Linked DNA regions of Homo sapiens: regions 2, 3 and 4 are each linked to region 1. Evidence: promoter capture Hi-C in 16 types of primary human blood cells and fetal thymus (Javierre and others, 2016). All regions are on one chromosome and are shown on one strand. The core of a region is centred on a gene start or on the middle of the fragment in contact, and the rest is flanking DNA. Distances in the headings are between cores, read along the strand shown.

Region 1 (4,149 bases), core at 1,074-3,573:
TGTAGGAGTACAAGGGTAGTGGCAGAGACCATTTAGGACAGTACTGCAACACTCCAGGCTACAGTAGTGGTTTGGATCAGAGACACAGAAGGTGGAAATTATGATTCTGGGTATTTTTCAAACAGAAGGCTGATAGATTTTGTTGAATTGTGTGTGGGTTGTTAAAGAGAAGAATCAAGGATGACCCCAAAGTTTTTGGCTGAACTACTAAAAAAACTGAATTACCATTTGGTTAGAGGTAGAAGATTAGTGAAGAAGCAAGTTTGTGTATGCATTGGGAAGGGGGTGGTTGGTAGTGGGAGTATCAGGAGGCCAATTTTAGAGCTGTTAAATGTGAATGTCTATTACACATCCAGATGGAAATGTTGAACAGGTATATGGATATATACATCAGAATGTCAGTGTTGAGATCAGAATCTCTTACGCTATCAGAACCAAATGTTTTAATAATGCCACAAATGTTTCAATAAATGCCTATGAACCAGGTGATTCTTGAGACTCTTCTTTGTATAGGATTTATATTTTCAGACAGATTTTAGCTGGTATTTTTTTAAGGAGGGCAATAATCATATTACCATAATAAGTGATATCATCATAATTGAATAATGAGCTTAGGCATATGCTTTGAAAAAAAACCTACATACATTAAATAAAATTGAATTCAAATGAATATCTTTTGGAAACAACTACTGAATTCACAAATGTACATAAAAAGTTCTTAAGCTTAATCTAAGTAATAATATAAAAAGAAAAATACTATTATGAATAAAACTCTGGATACCAGAGTGGACAATTGAGTCTAACATATTCCCAGAGAAGTATTTGAAGTAGACTAACACAAAGAAATCTTGCCTTGAGAATCTTTACAATCTTTTACTTAAACCTTTAATAAAGATTCAAATAAAATGTTAAGAAACTTTCTAAATGGTTCTGAAAGTAATGGTCCAGCCAGGGAAATAAGGTCTCTCGCCTCTGTCTTGGGGCTTTCAGAATAGACTGGATGACCTTAGAATTAAAGGCAGATTCATGTTTTTCTGAACAGTACCTCCTTGTATTGACAAGTGTTTCCCCAATAGTTTGTTTTACAGTAAATGCTTCAACTAAAGAATCCAATTATTAACCCATTCACACTGTTTCAGTTTGCAGATAACCATTTGCCCAGCACAAAAATCTTTATATTGTTCTCAGAAATTGATTCTTGACTCTACACAGCAAATCCTTCGTCTTTATTGTTTTGACCCATTACAAATGCTTTCCACTATGATGGACTTATATTCTCCTTTTCTCCTCTAGCACTTACTTTCTTTTTTCCCCAGGAGTCCAAGTCTTGGCAACCTTTGAAAAAATCCCATTTGAGAGACCTTTCAGGAGGCCAAATGCTAATTTTACCAGCAACAGCTTCACATCACAGTACTGGAATGCGGTCAGCCACCGGGCCCCTGCCATTATCTATGACTGCTATCTGCGGCTCACTGGAAGGAAGCCCAGGTGAGAAGCTGAGTCAATGGCTTTGAGAGTGTCACTGCATGGGAGATTAAGGCCCCAAAATCTTTAGTGCTTCCTTCAGCCGAGGATTAAAGGAGACAACTGAATCTTACCCATATATACAGATTGAACACACCTAATCTGAAAATCCAAAATCTGAAATTCTCCAAAATCCAAAACGTTTTGAGTGCTGACATGATGCCACAAGTGGAAAATTCCACATACCTTACCTCATGTGATGGGTCACAGTCAAAAGACATTCAAAACTGTTTCATACATAAAATTATTTAAAATATTATGTAAGATTACCTTCAGGCTCTGTGTATATGGCTAAGTGTGTATGAAACAGAAATGAATTTTGTGTTTAGACATGGGTCCCATCCCCAAGATAGCTCATTACATATATGCAAATATTCCAAAATCTGAAAACAATCAAAACCCAAAACACTTCTGGCCCAAGTATTTCACATAAAGGATACTCGACCTGTATAAGTTTTGAACAAAGCAGTCATAGTGAGAAGCCACAAAAGACATTAAAAATGTTCCAGCACAATAAAGGAAGGTAAATGTTAAAGAGGTTGATGAATTCAGCAAGTAATCATTCATGCGAAAAGAAAAGCAATTGAGACTCTGTCACTAGGGTTTTCTGAATAGGTAGATAATCTTAAATATACAATAATGATGACAACCTCACTTACTGAGAGTTTACTGTGGCACTCGTGGGGCTAAGGCTGATGCATGATGATCCCATTTTCATTGTCACAGCTACCCAAGGAAGATGTCCTCATCATCCCAATTTTACAAATGGGGAAATAGAAGCTAAGGAAAGAATCTGAATTAGTCTCAAAGGAAGTGACAGGAAGGATGTGGAGAAAGCCGAGTCTCAAAGTCAGTATTCGGAACCAGATTTACTGCCACCTAGAGATGAGTGAAGAAATTAGAGGGAACACAGTGTGCTGATGCTAAGGCAGCTGTCACCACCTAGCTGTGTGACACAGGACATACGCCTTTATCTGTCTCGCTTGAATAATATTATGTGTCAGAGGAGTCATTGTTATAATTGCCTAAGGCAATTCTCGTGATCAAGAATCAGAAGTATGAACAGTATTGCCTTCTGTGCTAGCCCCTTTATAAGGGAGGAAGTCTTCTTCAGCGTGTTTGTCATCTTTATTAGCAGTGCAAATGACTAAAACTTAGCCAATGTAGAGTTTATCTAAATTTTTAAAGACCTCATTTGGAGCTCATAACTCAGTTCTTGAGCAAGGTGAAAAGGAAACATTGTGATTATGGGGAAAATATTTGTATGGGGCTTATTAAATAAAGACAGGAAAAGAAGAAAACCCAAATATTGTAGGCAGAAATGCTAAAGGTTTTAAAATATATCAGGATTGGAAGAGGGCCTGCATAAAGAACAAAGTTCAGTTAGGAAAAAAGAGAAACACAGAAGGAAGAGACACAATAAAAATCTATATGTATCTTGTGAGAAGTCAAACAGTAATATTTGTGGGAAATGGGTTGGTTTGTTGTGTGGTATGTATTTTAGCAATAATCTTTATGGCAGAAAAAGCTGAAATCCTTCTAGACCCTTTCCTGCTCCAGGTGTGCTTGTGTATACTCTCCTATGCTTTTACATCCATATATGGACGTACATAGTTTGCTTTGCAGTAGGGGGGTATGTGTGTATATAAATCAATTGTACATATTTTACAACTTTTTCCACTAATTTTCCATGAAAATCTAAGTCATTCTGCCCGGTGTTGTCTTTTTTTTCTACTGCAAATAGGGCAATGAATATCAGTGTGCATGCCTCTTTGTAGAATGTGCCTGTGTCAGGAGAGGATGCTGAGGAGGGAGACTGCTGGATTGAAGAGTATGTGGAGTTTGTGACTAGTGCCAGGTGACCCTCCCTAAGGAAGAGACTGTCAATTGGCACTACCACAACAGTGTATGAAGGGTACAAAAGTCTTTTTTTTTTCTTTTTCTTTTTTCTTTTTTTTTTGAGATGGAGTCTTGCTTTGTCACCTAGGCTAGAGTGCAGTGGCGAGATCTCAGCGCACTGCAACCTCTGCCTCCTGGGTTCAAGCGATTCTCCTGCCTCAGCCTCTCGAGTAGCTGGGATTACAGGCGCCCGCCACTGTGCCTGGCTAATTTTTGTATTTTTAGCAGAGATGGGGTTTCACGATCTTGACCAGGCTGGTCTCGAACTCCTGACCTCAAGCAAGTCACCCGCCTCGGCCTCCCAAAGTGCTGGGATTACAGGCATGAGCCACCGCGCCCGGCCAAGGGGTACAAAACAGTATGTCTTACCCTCTTAATGGGGGTAAGAATACTTTGTAAAAATCAACTTCTGAATTGTCAAACTCATAAGGAATGACATCTTTTTGTTTTTTTGATTTGCATTCATGATTGCTGGAGGGGCTGGACTTTCATTCATTTATTGGACATTTAAGTTTTCCCCTCTGTGTGCTGCCTGCTTCTGCTCCCTATTTTCCTATTGGGTTGTCCTTATTAATGTATGGGAACATGTGTGTGTGAATACATATTTCATATATTTTCTCCAGGTCTGTTTCTTTTTAGCTTTGACTATAAAGCTTTTTGTAATATGAGTGAAGATACATATAATGCAGGGCTTAGGAACATGGAGTTTGGAGTCAGGCTTATAGG
Region 2 (4,450 bases), core at 213-2,712, 1.5 Mb after region 1:
ACAGAGATTGTTAATCCCTACTTCAAGAGTCTATGATTTAGTGGGTCTGAATAGAGCCTGTGAACCAAAAAGTGGCTGAGGCAGATCTCAATCGAGTTAGAGGTTTGTTTTGCCAAGGTTGAGGATGTGGCCAGGGAAAAAGAAACACAAGTTACAGTAGAATCTGCGGCCTGTACTTTTTCCAAAGAGGGTTTTGAGGACTTCAATATTTAAAGAGGAAAGAGCAGGTAGAAGAGGAAGGAGAAAAAAAAAGAGGCTGGGTGTAGGCAGTAACATGTTTACATTCTTGTGAGGCTTCTATTAGCCCTTAAAAACTACTCACTGAATCCACATTTTACATGTGAAAAGAGAGTGGTGGGGTTAAAGTCAATTATGCATTCTTCTCATGCTGCGTATATCTACATTTTACATAAGATAAAGTAAGCATAGAGTAGAGGAAGAACTCAATTATGCATTTGTTTGGGGTGGGTGGAGGAATTTCTAGTCTTATGTTTGGCCCTTACCTGTGAAAATAAGCTGTTAATTTGCATTGTCAGGGTAAGATTCAACAGCACTCTATTTTAGGGCAAGTTTATAGGAGGGATATGTATTCTGAAAGATGTGGAGTCCACGAGGAATTTCCTTGTGAGCAATTTGTGAGGGAGGACCCCTGGGAAGATATGTGACCTTCTATTTTGCAGCTATTTGGTTGGGAACAAAAAGGAAGGCAGTTTGATTGCTTTTGTGTGACTCAGTTCCCAAGCTTCACTTTCCCTTTGGCATAGTGAGTTCGGGGTCCCGAGATTTTTATTTTCCATTCACAGCCCTGAGAATTTGCATTTCTAATAAGTTGCTAGGTGATGCAGATAATGTGGGTCCAGGGACCAGATTTTGGGAACCACAGCAGGTATGGTTCCCAGTCCTGACTAATCATCAGAATCACCTGTGATGTTAAAAACAAAACAAGACAAAAAAAGAAAAACAAACAAACAAACAAAAAAACCAGATTCCCAAGAGCCTCATGCCAGAAGCCACCAATTTGAATCTTCAGAAGTGGAGCCACCGGGAACCTGTTTATTTGATAAAGCTCCCCATTAGATCCTGGCGTTCAGCAGATGCAGAGTTCCACAGCCCCAGAGTACTCAGGATTATGCTAAACATTTAGTCAGTGTCTAAGAAAGCCTTGATTGATGGGCTGATTTAGATCCGGAGGCACTTTCAGCAGTAAAATGTGAATCCTTTTGTATGCTAAGTTTTTATTTAATTTGTGATGATGATATTCTTTGGAGAAGATCTGTACTGGTCTCTTAGCTACATAAAAATGAGCACTTTTGTAAAGGAAGTTCTCACAATTCTAATAGACAAATTAAAAAACTCTAGCACAACCATGTAAATCATCAGAATATTTCCATAGCAATAGCACAAAAACTTAAAAAAAAATAAGGAGTCCCACTTTGGGAGGCCGAGGCGGGTGGATCACGAGGTCAAGAGATCGAGACCATCCCGGCTAAAACGGTGAAACCCCGTCTCTACTAAAAATACAAAAAAATTAGCCGGGCGTAGTGGCGGGCGCCTGTAGTCCCAGCTACTTGGGAGGCTGAGGCAGGAGAATGGCGTGAACCCGGGAGGCGGAGCTTGCAGTGAGCCGAGATCCCGCCACTGCACTCCAGCCTGGGCGACAGAGCGAGACTCCGTCTCAAAAAAAAAAATAAATAAATTTAAAAAAAAAAAAAAAGATAATAATAATAATAAAAAATAAGGAGTCCAAATGGAATTATCCTGAGATTCTGTCAGATTTATCCTTTAGAAATTAATAGTTGCCTTTTATCAGAATTTCCTGGCAATGTAACTAGATTGGTGGCTCATATGCTTATCAAAATTTAGTAGGTTAGATTTTCCAGGTAACATTACTTTCTTTCCTGATATTCTTCATAGGCTGGTTTTTACAACATATTTCTCCTGGTAACTAACTGTCTATTTAGCAGAGATTAAAAGCAGAACAATGTTCTTATTTTTTCAAGTATTTTATTTCATAAAAAGGAGAGTTGTCACTTCAATAATCTCTGACTAAATTAGGAGTTGGATAATATGGGTCTAAACTGTGTAATTTCATCTTTTCTTCATTTCCATAATGGTTCTAGGTCACATTTCTTACTAACAAACTTCTAAATTTTGTGCAACCTACTTAACTGAAATGAACCATTAAGCTTTGGCTTGTTACACATTTGCACAAATGAAGAAATGGCTTGTGAGCTTAACTCTAAATTGTGGTTCATTTAGAGAAGTGGTTACTGTATAATTTGTAGATTGGGTACTGAACTCAGTATTTTTGAAATTAGATAATAGAGAGCTAATAGTGACCCAAATGGAAAAACACACCTTATGTTCACTAATGAAATGTAAAATAGAATTCATCATTCTCCATGTGATGACAAAGAGCACAAAAGCAATGTGAAAATTAACTTAATTGGAAATATTGTAAAATTATTTTCAATATCATACGTTAAATTAAGGCGTTGCTTTGATTGCTAAGTAGATAATAGAAAAAGCCGAAGTGGTAAGCCTTGTTAGAATTTGTGCAAATGCTTTACAAATTGCTGATTTTCTAGTACCATCACAACATTTAATAGTGGTACATTTAATAGAAAGGCAGTTCAAGTTGAAATAGATGACAGTTAAGTAGATGTTTTGAACAAGTTGTTCAATAACTTCTCAAACTAAATTTCATCTTCTGTATCCAGAGAGCTAAAAATATATTCCCTAGGATCTAGCACTTTCCTTACACATAGTTGGTAGTCAGTAAACACTTGTCAAAAGTAAGGGAACAGATGAATACTACAAGATAATGTAGTGGAGTCTAAGCTGGTATTGCTCACTGCAGGACAGTCAATAAGTCACGAGACAAGGTGTTGGGGCAAGAGGGCAATAACTCAGTTTATCTGCTCAACCGAGAAGATGATGGACTAATGTCCTAAAGAACTGTCTTAAGGCAATGTGCATTTCCGGTCCCTTTATTGTTAAGGGAAGAGGGTAGAAGGAGATGGAGTTCAAGAGGTGACTGATGGTTATAGGCATCTGGGCAGCAGAGAGCATCTGAGAGGGAGTTGGAAAACTTCTTTGTCCTTGGTCAGGTCACAATGCTCCTATAAATCTTTAATTATATATTTCTTATTATTATTTTATTTTTTCATATACCGAGTGAAAGCTAGGATCCCATAAATCTTTAAAATAACATTGTTCCTTGTATGTACACACTCCTTACCTCCTTGGAGGTTAGTTTTGGGAAGGAACTAGCATCCTATTATCCTTGCTTTAAAGTTAAACTACAAACTAAATTCCTTCCATCATATCATTTTCTTGGCCTTCATGCAGAGATAATAAAAATTAGTTAATCTAAAAGGTACCACCTGGAGGGGGAAGGGGGGTGTTAGGAGCAAAATGGAGTTTGTTGAGCTAGGCCTCCTTTTCACTGTTACAAAGATGCTAGGAGAAAAGTTATCTCCTTGGCACTGGAGAGAAGTCTGGGTGCAAAAGAGAAACAAATTGAAAATCAGTTGTGATTCTTCTAGGATTCGTTAATTTCATCCTCCCAATCTCTTTTGCCAGTCCAATCCTCTCCCAAGAAGTCCAGATTCCAGCTCTTACTGGACGCCTCCATTTCAAATAGTGCAGCAAACAGGTTAAGAATACAGATGCTGAACCAAGACAGCTTAGGTTCAAATCTCCAAACCCCACTGACTTTAGCTGTTTGACCACAGGCAAGTTACTTTACTTCTTGATATCTCATTTGTGAAATTGAGTCAATAATAGCATATCTATCTTAAGCTGTGCTGGAAGGATTATGTGACTTAAGACATGTAAAGCATTTTAGGATAGTGCCCACATACCTGTGATAGACAGCTTCAGACATAGCTCCCAGTGGTCTCCACCTCTTGGTGATCAGCCCTTGTATAATTCCTTCCCCTAGAGTGTGGGCTGAGCCTAATGACTTGCTTCTAATACATGGAATTTGGCAAAAGTGAGGGTGTGACAGTTAATTTTTTAATGTCAACTTCATGAGGCTGAGGGATGCCCGCATAGCAGGTATAATATTATTTCTCAGTGTATCTTTGAGGATATTTCCGTAAGACATTGGCATTTGAATCAGTAGACTGAGTAAAGAAGATTGCACTCACCAATGTAAGTGGGTATCATCCAATCCATTGAGGACCCAGATAGAACAAAAAGATAGTGAAAGGACAAACTGGCCAGGTGCTGTGGTTCACACCTGTAATCCCAGCACTTTGGGAGGCTGAGGTGGGCAAATCACTCAAGGTCAGGAGTTCAAGACCAGCCTGATCAACATGGCGAAATCCTGTCTCTACTAAAAATACAAAAATTAGCTGGGCCTGGTGACGGGTGCCTGTAGTCCCAGCTACTCAGGAGGCTGAGACAGGAGAATCGGTTGAACCCAGGAGGTGGAGGCTGCAGT
Region 3 (4,538 bases), core at 1,633-4,132, 1.5 Mb after region 1:
ATGGGTCGCATATTTAACATGGTGCCAGGACCCGGGAAGCAGGGAGGGAAAACAGTGGGAGGATGCTCCCTGTCTCCTCCTCCACCCTGGGTCATACGGAAAGGGAGGAGACTAAAAGGACGCTTTTATTCTTGCTTCTTTTTCTAGATGGGAAACAGATTATCTTTGGCTTGCACCCGCTGGAGTGCACTCTGAAACACTGGAACTTCCTTAACCTCAGGACTTTGAAGAAATAAGTGACTCATTTTCTTTTACACAAGGGCATGGTGTTTTTACAAAACCCGTGCAAGCATTTTAAGATCAACCCAGGTCTTTTAGCAATCACATCGGGCAGGCCCAGGGAGAACAGTTCCCCCAAATTAGAAAAGCAACTTCCAGGGGAACCATCTGAGGATCCCCCTTATTTTGGGCCCCTTCAAGTTCCCTTCTCATTACAAGACCTTAAGCAAATAAAGCGAAACTTAGGCCGATTTTCTAACGACACTGATAGGTATATAGAAGCTTTCCAAAATTTAACTCAGGTGTTTCACCTCACATGGAGGGATGTTATGCTGCTCCTAAACCATACCCTCACAGCAGCTGAAAAGCAGGCAATTCTGCAAGCAGCAGAGATTTCGGGGATGAGCAATATATCTCCTATAATATACCAAAAGGGAAGAACGCAGATAGGGAAAGCGAAAAAATCGTGTAGACTCCTTTCCCACTAGGAAGGGAAGCAGTTCTGGTAAACAACCCCGATTGGGACCCCAATAACTCAAGAGATGAATGGAAAAGGAGGCACATTTTAAGATGTATATTAAAGGGCCTATGGAAGACCAGGGCCAAACCTCTCAATTACGCTAAACTGTCTAGGATAAACCAAAAGCCAGATGAGAATCCTCTAGCCTTTACGGAAAGGCTAAGAGAGGCACTAATAAAGTACACCTCTTTATACCCTGATTCAGTCGAGGGACAGCTCATTCTAAAGGACACGTTTATTACACAGGCAGCTCCCGATATTAAAAGGAATACAAAAGCAGGCTATAAGACCAGATAGCACCTTAGAGAACCTCCTGAAGGTAGCCACTTTGGTCTTTTGTAACAGGAACCAGGAGGAGGCCCAAAAGAAAGAGAGAAAGCTCAAGAGAAGGACAGAGGCTCTAGCAGCTGCTTTGCAGGTTTGCAAAATCCAGGATCCCCAAGGTGCATTCGCTAGTTGCTATTGGTGCGGCAGCCCAGGGCATTTTAAAAAGGAACCCCCAGGAAGCAAGACAAAGCCACCTCAACCCTGTCCAGGCTGTGGCAGAGACCACTGAAGATGGAACTGCCCCCAGAGATGGAGGCCACTGGGTTCAGGACCAGTCTCACAGATGGTCCCGCAGGACTGATGGGTCCTGGGGCTCAAACCCTGGCTTCAGTGGCTCAAACTGCCATTATAGCACAGGAGCCCCGGCTAATTCTGGAAATTAAAGGAAGGAAAGTAGACCTCCTTCTAAACATTAGAGCCAGTCTCTCCCTTTTCTCCTCTCTAATCCAGGCCTCTCCTCTTCCCATAGTACGACCGTAAGGGGTGTCTCAGGAAAAACTCTAATCCAATATTTTTCTCAACCATAGTTGTAGTTAGGAGGACCTATTTACACATGCTTCCAAGTCATAATAACTCTACTAGTCAGAAAAGCCTCCAAGTTAACCCTAGGAAATAATTTAACTGTTTACACTTCACATAATGTGTGAGGATTACTGTCCTCTAGGGGGAGCTCTTAGCTAACAAACAGCTGGTAAAGCAAGAAGTACATAAGGCAGGATAAGCAGTCGTCACTCTTAACGTCTCTCCCCAGGCACAAGTGCTGAATTAGCTGAGCTAATAGCTCTTACAAGAGCACTTAAATTAAGCAAGGGGAAGGTAGCTGCCATTTATACTAACTCCAAGTATGCTTTCTTAACTCTCCATACTCATGCTGCGATTCAAAAGGAAAGGCATTTTCTTACCACTAATGAATCTCCTATAAAATATTGCCAGGAAATTGGCAGGTTATTATCCTCAGTTTTTCTTCCACAAAAAATAGCAGTCATGCGTTATAGGGGACATCAAAAGGAAACAGATAAGGTAGCCAAAGGAAATAGAATGGCTAATCAGGCAAAGCTAAGTCAGAGGCAAGGAAGCTTTAAGGCATTAATGCACTTCAAGCCCTTCTAATCTAGGAAGGCTCCAAAAAAGAAATTAAACATCAGTATTCCCCTACAGAAATAAAATAGGATCACCTTTATTTAACCCAGGAAATTTGGTATTAGTACAAACTCTCATCTCTGTCTCCTTCCCTAAGCCAAGCTGGGAAGGGCCCTACACTGTTCTTCTTTCAACCCCCTCGGCAGTAAAAGTTACAGGAATCGACTTCTAAATACATCACACTCAAGTCAAAGCCTGAAGAGCTGAGGGAGCAGCCCCTAACAGCCCAGAGAAATATCCTGAATATCAATGCGGAGAAAGAGATCTTTTTCTTTTTCTTGTTGTTGTTGTTGTTGTTCTTGTTGTTGTTGTTGTTTTTGAGACGGAGGCTCCCTGTCGCCCAGGCTGGAGTGCAGTGGCGCGATCTCCGCTCACTGCAGGCTCCGCCCCACGGTTCACGCCATTCTCCTGCCTCAGCCTCCGGAGTACCTGGGACCACAGGCGCCCATCACCACGCCCGGCTAATTTTTTTTTTTGTATTTTTAGTACAGACGGGGTTTCACCGTGTTAGCCAGGATGGTCTCGATCTCCTGACCTCGTGATCCGCCCGCCTTGGCCTCCCAAAGTGCTGGGATTACAGGCGCGAGCCACCGCGCCGGGCCAGAAAGAGAAGATTTTAAGCTGAAAATCATAAAAGATAAGTAACTGAGTGAGGGCTACTCATCTTACTCAGTCCCACTCCTGCCTCACCAGATACTTTTTGCTATTTCTACCCTTTACTCTCAAAGTTCACCACCAAATATTAAAACTTCTTTTTAAAGCATATTTGCAGGCAGATTTTAATTATTCATAGAATCGCATTTGTAACTTTGTAGCTCCCCAAAGAGAAATGTTATATCTTGGTAAGTAAAGTTTTAAATGGAAATTATTCACTATGCCACTCTTGTAAGAACTGTTATACTCACGCTACTATTTACAATAGAACTACACACTGTAGCACCCAAGATGTGGAATTCTGGTTGTAAAATTCTAATTGCTGTAATATTTTGCCTAATTATCAACCTTATAACAGGATTGATAGTTGCAGGAAAGATTTAGTCAAAATTGTGTCGCTTATAGCAGGAGTAATAGTTGTGGATAAGAAGCAAGGATGAAAGTTTTACTATCATTACGTTTAATAGGACTTTTTCTGAAGGTTGGTAATATAATGTGCTCTAAGCTATAAAGAGAAGATTATAAAGGAAGATTTTATGTAAGAAAAGATTTTCATTGGTAAATACTTGTCCTAAAAGGAAATGACTGGTTGTTTAAAGGATGAATGCTTAGGGCAAGTCAGAAAGTTTAAGTATGTTGTAAGAGGGTCTGTGAAAGTCATGAAATTATTAAAGGAAAGGAATTGTCAAGATTAACATTAAAGTTATTTTAGCCACCCACTAATGTATTTCTCCCAAGCATATTGCAAGTTAGGAAAATGGCCTAAGCTTAAAGTTATTCTCTAATGGCAAGTCAAAGGGGAAATGTATGGTTTTCTCAAGGAAAATGTTTCTTTTATATTAATGTTTCTGGTAATGTACAGCGAGATACTGGTATTGCAATCCATGGTGTAACTAATAGGTATGAAACTCAGGGTCTATAGGACCCCCACTCACGGTGGTAATCTTAATACTCACATTCTAACCCTATATTTTAAATTTTCTTATAAAATTTATCTCTTTTCACCTGGAAGCAATCAAACTCCAAACGGTGCTGCGAGCAAAGCCACACGTGTTTGAAATGCTTGTAAAGAAATAGCACTTGAGCATCAGTTTATTTAGTAAGGCCATTTTTACTTCTTGCAGAAAGGGTACACTCGCCAGCAGTTTTGCCAGGAGAGTACACTGAACAAAGGAGACAGGGTCATTTATAACCTGACGCGTCCACCCTACTGCTGTGTCCAGTTTCCAATAGCTGGAATGGGACCTCACATTCTGTATTTGTCCCGATTGGCTAGCAACTTAGAACTTTTTAAAAGAGGCAAAGGTAGAGGAGAACAAAAGAAGGAGGAAGTAACTTGTGGAATGCTGGGAAAGGTAAAAACACTTTTAAATAAGGAAGAGGAACAGACTATGATCTAATGCTTGCTTGGACCAGTATAAGCATGCCAGGGCAAATATTTAGGCTAAATTGTGGGAGCTAAGAACATAAATTACATTGATTTCTTTATTATGGCTAGCAGATATTTAAGAATGTTAGCACAGGTCTTTGAATAAATTTTGCTTTTAAGAGAAGTTACTATTTATTTCTTATTAGACGGGGCGGAAAGTCTTTGAAGAGGAACCTCTACTTTACTTTTTACACATGGTCACGCCATTCTTCCAAGAACCCTTAGATAAACCTCAGGAGAAGGCACAAC
Region 4 (4,668 bases), core at 1,412-3,911, 1.5 Mb after region 1:
TCTGCACGGGTGCCCCACAGCTTAAGCCTGTTTGGTGAGGAGACATCTGTGGCACCAAAAGAAGATAGCTCAGGCAGATCCTGCAGTTGCTGATTCTTCAGGATCCTGGGAAGAGTTCCTACTCAGCAGTATTTCCTAGATCCACCTTATGACATTACCGACCTTGCTAAGGCTCTCGCCTGCCCAGGAAGAGTGGGCAGCCCTAGTGAGGGGCCGTTAGGGCCAGGGGTAGGAGGTACCAGCAGTTGGAGACAGGGAAGACTGACTGATCTCTCGGGGATTTGTCCCTCATCCTGGGGACCATCTATCCTGCTGGGTGGTGGCTGGCAGCCTGTCCAAATGTATGAGCCACCAGAGGGTCAAGTAGACGCAGGGCAGGACCGTCTTCTGGGAGATGTGTCCCCCTAAATTCTTCTGTCACTTCAGACATTCCAGGTAGAAGGAGGCCCTTTGACCTGCAAAGCCAGCCAGAGAACCAGGAACAGGGCAGGGAAAGAGCATGCTAGCCTGAGACGGCTCACACCCAGCTGGGGCGTGAGGAGCAATGTCTGTGGCCCCAGGCACACCTCCTTTCTCCACCCTGTCACCTTATCTCTGAGACATACTGTGCAGCATATGTCCAAGGCCCATCTGGGCACATCCTGCCTTTGGAATTCTGTTTCGCCACTTTGAAAATCTGCCCAGCCCACTTTGGGGAGGTTGTTTGAGTCAGGTTTCCATGATCTCTCAATCAACCCTCAGCACTGACCGGTGTCCCCTCAGAGGGGACCACTGGCCACATCTGGAGAGCAATGTGTGTGTTTAATAGTGAGGCAGAGCAGAGGGAGCCCGTCTTCAGGGATTGCCAGATGTCTCTCTTGTCCTCTTCTGGGGGTGTCAATTGTTGATTTTCATCACCCCGGTAGGAGAGCCTGGAACACAGAACTCTTGGGGCTCGTTCCTGGAGGCTGAGAAATGCCACTGCGTAGGGACAGCTGCCACCCCCAGAAAGCAGTTTGCTCTTTTCCTTAGTGAAGAGATCCTCCCCCTGCCCCCCCATATTGTGCTTACATACAGGTTGATGCATTTCCCTCCCAGGAAATTCCACCGTGCCCCCGGCATCACAGATGTCTCCAGACCTGCTGGTTGGGAGTTTCCAGCTCCTCATCCACAGCCTGTCCTATGAACTTGCATTTCAGATTTAGGACAGTGAAGGCAGTCTCAGGTCAAAGGTGTCAAGAGAGTTGAAAACATTCTAGGCCCTTTAGGTTCTTTCAGGGAAAGGCCTCGGCTCCTGTGTTTGCATGTGTTGCTGCTATGTGCCACAGCTGCTCTCCAACTTTAACCCAGACTTATCAGCCACCCCCCATTTCTCCCTGCCCTGCCAACCTCTTCATCACCAAGGGCACATAAGCAGCTGCCTACAACAAGCATACAATCATTCAGTCAGCAACTAGATGCACTGTAAGGAATCTTGGGAGGTATTAAGTCAATGGCATCCAGGTCTTTTGATGGTGACTCACAGTGAGAATATATTTGACACATTCCCATCACGCACGGATGCACCTAATGGAATCTTGCATTTCAGTATCTCAGCTGGAGCCAGCCAGGCCAAGAGGTATTCCGTCCAGGGAATCTCCCTGACATGTTTTCCTTGGATGCCATTCTCTACTCTTGACCATGTTGCTGGCAGTTTCTTGGGTCATTTCTCCATGTCGGTGGATGGATTATTGTGCAGCTAAATTTCCAGTGTGAATACATTGCACACTGGTAAGTTCTAGTCTACTTCAGTCTGTTCTCATTCATTAAAATATTGATTTCACAATCCCTAGTGTGTCGGCCTGCAGTCTGAGAGGCACAGTTGCCTTTTAACCTCCTTTTGCAGATGAAGCCATCAACTTGCTGGTCCCTGGTGCAACCCCCACCCTGAGGAGAGACACTGCTGCCTTGATCTTCTGTGAATCCACCCTTGTTCCTGGCACAGTGACTTTGAGTCTTTACAGACGTGCAACAGCCTTTGTTGAGTGAGACCTCACATTCTTATGCCTCCAAGCCTTGCTCTCATTCTCAACTAGTCAAGCCCTCCCTATTATATTTCCTCTTAGACAAGTCACCCCTACTCTTGCACTTCCAGCTGTTTGACCTTGTGCATCGTACATGTTAAGCTCATCCTGCCCTCAACCTTCTCTGAATGGCTGTACCCCTCAGGGTTTGTACCACCCTGTGGGCAATTAGTTAGAGCTCTCCATGTTATCTTCCTCTTCTGAGACCCTCTTAGCTTCCTAACTAGTTTGGAAAACCTCCTTGAGTATGGGGACTGGTTTATTCACAACCTATCAGAGTGCCTGCATGCACCAGGCACTCAAGAAGAGCCAAAATGGGTTAAAGCATACACTTTTCCTGACTTCTAGGATAGGTGGTTGTGCATGAGTTTGTATTCCCCAAAAATCAATTTAGGGAATGTCATCTCTTAAGAAGCTTCCAATGTTTCTTTTGGTTTTGTGTTGACTGTGTTTCATTTTGTCAGGAACATGAAGGTCTATCACCCCCACCATCCTATTTTGCTGATGGGGACATGAAGGCACAGGGTGGTTGATGGATTTGTCAAGAGCTCCTTGTCTCTACTATTTCCATGCTTTTCCTTATTCACTAGATTCTTCTTTCTTCATCAGGGGGACAGGAGACACTTCTGCTACTCCTCCAACCCAATTCTGGACCAGAAAGCTCTGGACCCCAGGAAGCCACATGCTGTGCTAGCTTGTCTGGAGCCTTTCCCCCCAACCCCCTGAGGGGCCCGGGGCCTCCCTCCCTTCACCTCCAGCCACACCTTTCCTTTCTTCACAAGCCTAAAAAGCTAGTCCTTCCTCAATATAAAGTACTTTCAGGAAAGCTTCTAAAAACAGTGTGTCTTTAATGTTTTTTAATGTAACCCACTGTCATCAAGGCATTTTACAAGGAGACTTTCTAGATACACACACATATTGGCAATGAACCAAATGTTTCACCACATAATACTAACATTTGTGACTTTTGATGCACTCTGATATTTCCTATTGTGCTACACTGTGCAATTCTTTTAAAGGGCTGACCAAATTGATGTCACGACCTCCTAATGGATCTAGGTCTGCAGTTTAAACACTCTACTCCAAAAATTCCAGCAAGAACAAAAATCTCAGCCCTAGATTTGCCAACAGTGTCCTTTTCTGGGACTTTATTATAAGGCTTTGCATAAAAAATTTGTTAATTGTTAATATATGGATGTGTGCACTGAGTCTCACTGGAAAACATATTGATGACTATTGGTTACAGCCTAAAAAGAATGCTTGAAAGTTTTCCTGGTGAGGAAAGGCCAAGCTAAAAAAGGGAGTCGTGTGTGTGTGTGTGTGTGTGTGTGTGTGTGTGTGTGTGTGTGTGAGAGAGAGAGAGAGAGAGAGATATGGGTGTGGTCCCATCCCCCTAATGAGATGCCACATGCTGTGCAGATGTTTTATAATATTTGATCTCCTCTTCTTCCCAAAATCATGTCCAGAGGAGAAATTCCATGGATCTGCCCCTGCCTCCCCCAGACCCTTCCCCAAACCTTGGCTGGCCTGGGCAGAGGACTGCAGAGCTCACATCTCTGTGGGGAACAGGCTGGACTCCCTGTGGGACTCAGGGTCTTCACTCACCCTTACTTCACATGTCTCCTCCTGAGACCCCTTGTCCTGACACACTACAGGTCTCTGGCTGTCTCAGGAGTGGCACGTAAAATGTCCGAGATCCAGACAAAAAATCAGAGACTGCCAACCCTCCTGCCCTTCCCTCAGCAAGTAAGGCATCACATACACATGCAGGCATGCACACGAGCACACAGGCACACATGCACATGTGCACACCAACACACTTGCTGTGGCCTTTTTCCTCCTAAAATCACTGAGGAAGCCATGGAGCCACAAAAGTGTTAAGATTAGGGTGAGGGTTTTACGTGGGAGAAGGGTGTCTGATTTGGATCCAAGAAGATCTGAGTTCTGACCCCCACTCACTCTAGCCCAAATCACTTAGCCCACCCTATGCCTCAGTTTCCCTTTCTATGAAATTGGGTTAACACATGCCCTGCCTGACTCAAAAGCTTCTTGTGAGTCACAAATATAGTAACAGATGAGATGATGCTTTGAGTATGCAAAGAACCAACTTGAAAGGAGGGTCCTGGGCCATACGATATAGGGCAGTGTGGCCCTAGAGAGAAGGCTGTCCCTCCCCTCCATTGTAGACAGCTGGGCCTTTGGGCCTTTGTTTGGCACAGCTGAGAAGTTCCTGATATCTTCTTCTGATAGTGTCTTTGAGCAAAGGATAGTGAGCCTGAGGCCCTGCTGAGCCTGAATCCCACCTGAGCTCCAGATCTTCCTATGCCAGGATGTGCCTTGGGAGGTAACACTTTCCCCACTGGGATGGGGGCTTTTGCTCACCTAGTCACAACTTCTTGAGGTGTGAGCTAAGTGTTCTTCCTTTTCCTAGCAGTGCTCAGCTCAGTACCTCCCTCCATCTTTCTTTCTATAGACCCTGCATGCTGGGGGCCACTTTATCCTCAAGCACCTGAGGGTACCAGGAAAAGATCCTGGCTTTGAGACACTCAGACAGGGGAGGGGCAGAGCTCTCTCGGGGCTACCCACCTGTATTTGTCTGTCCTTGTATTGCTATAAAGGGATACCT

What was found. Contacts are between HindIII fragments. The CHiCAGO score rates a contact against its expected background, and 5 or more counts as called.
Region 2: a fragment that was not itself captured here is called in contact with the fragment with the promoter of FAR2-AS1 in region 1 in 1 of 17 cell types (naive CD8 T cells); the score reaches 5.3 in naive CD8 T cells.
Region 3: a contact is called between a fragment that was not itself captured here and the fragment with the promoter of FAR2-AS1 in region 1, in 2 of 17 cell types (naive B cells and M1 macrophages). The highest score is 7.1, in naive B cells.
Region 4: a contact is called between a fragment that was not itself captured here and the fragment with the promoter of FAR2-AS1 in region 1, in 2 of 17 cell types (naive B cells and M1 macrophages). The highest score is 5.7, in naive B cells.

The regions. Positions count from the first base shown.
Region 1 is chr12:29,315,525-29,319,673 of GRCh38, forward strand. It overlaps FAR2-AS1 (FAR2 antisense RNA 1), which reads right to left and starts at 2,324. Exons shown (of 7, transcript NR_103860.1): 1 at 2,184-2,324. It overlaps FAR2 (fatty acyl-CoA reductase 2), which reads left to right. Exons shown (of 12, transcript NM_001271783.2): 9 at 1,317-1,488. The HindIII fragment of the contact is 3,353 bases long and covers 722-4,074 here.
Region 2 is chr12:30,785,343-30,789,792 of GRCh38, forward strand. No RefSeq gene overlaps it. Among named protein-coding and RNA genes, the nearest start is that of LINC00941, 8.1 kb to the right of the region's middle. RefSeq lists an enhancer at 147-648. The HindIII fragment of the contact is 1,444 bases long and covers 741-2,184 here.
Region 3 is chr12:30,845,641-30,850,178 of GRCh38, forward strand. No RefSeq gene overlaps it. Among named protein-coding and RNA genes, the nearest start is that of LINC00941, 52 kb to the left of the region's middle. RefSeq lists an enhancer at 2,699-3,243. The HindIII fragment of the contact is 1,485 bases long and covers 2,141-3,625 here.
Region 4 is chr12:30,827,348-30,832,015 of GRCh38, forward strand. No RefSeq gene overlaps it. Among named protein-coding and RNA genes, the nearest start is that of LINC00941, 34 kb to the left of the region's middle. The HindIII fragment of the contact is 412 bases long and covers 2,456-2,867 here.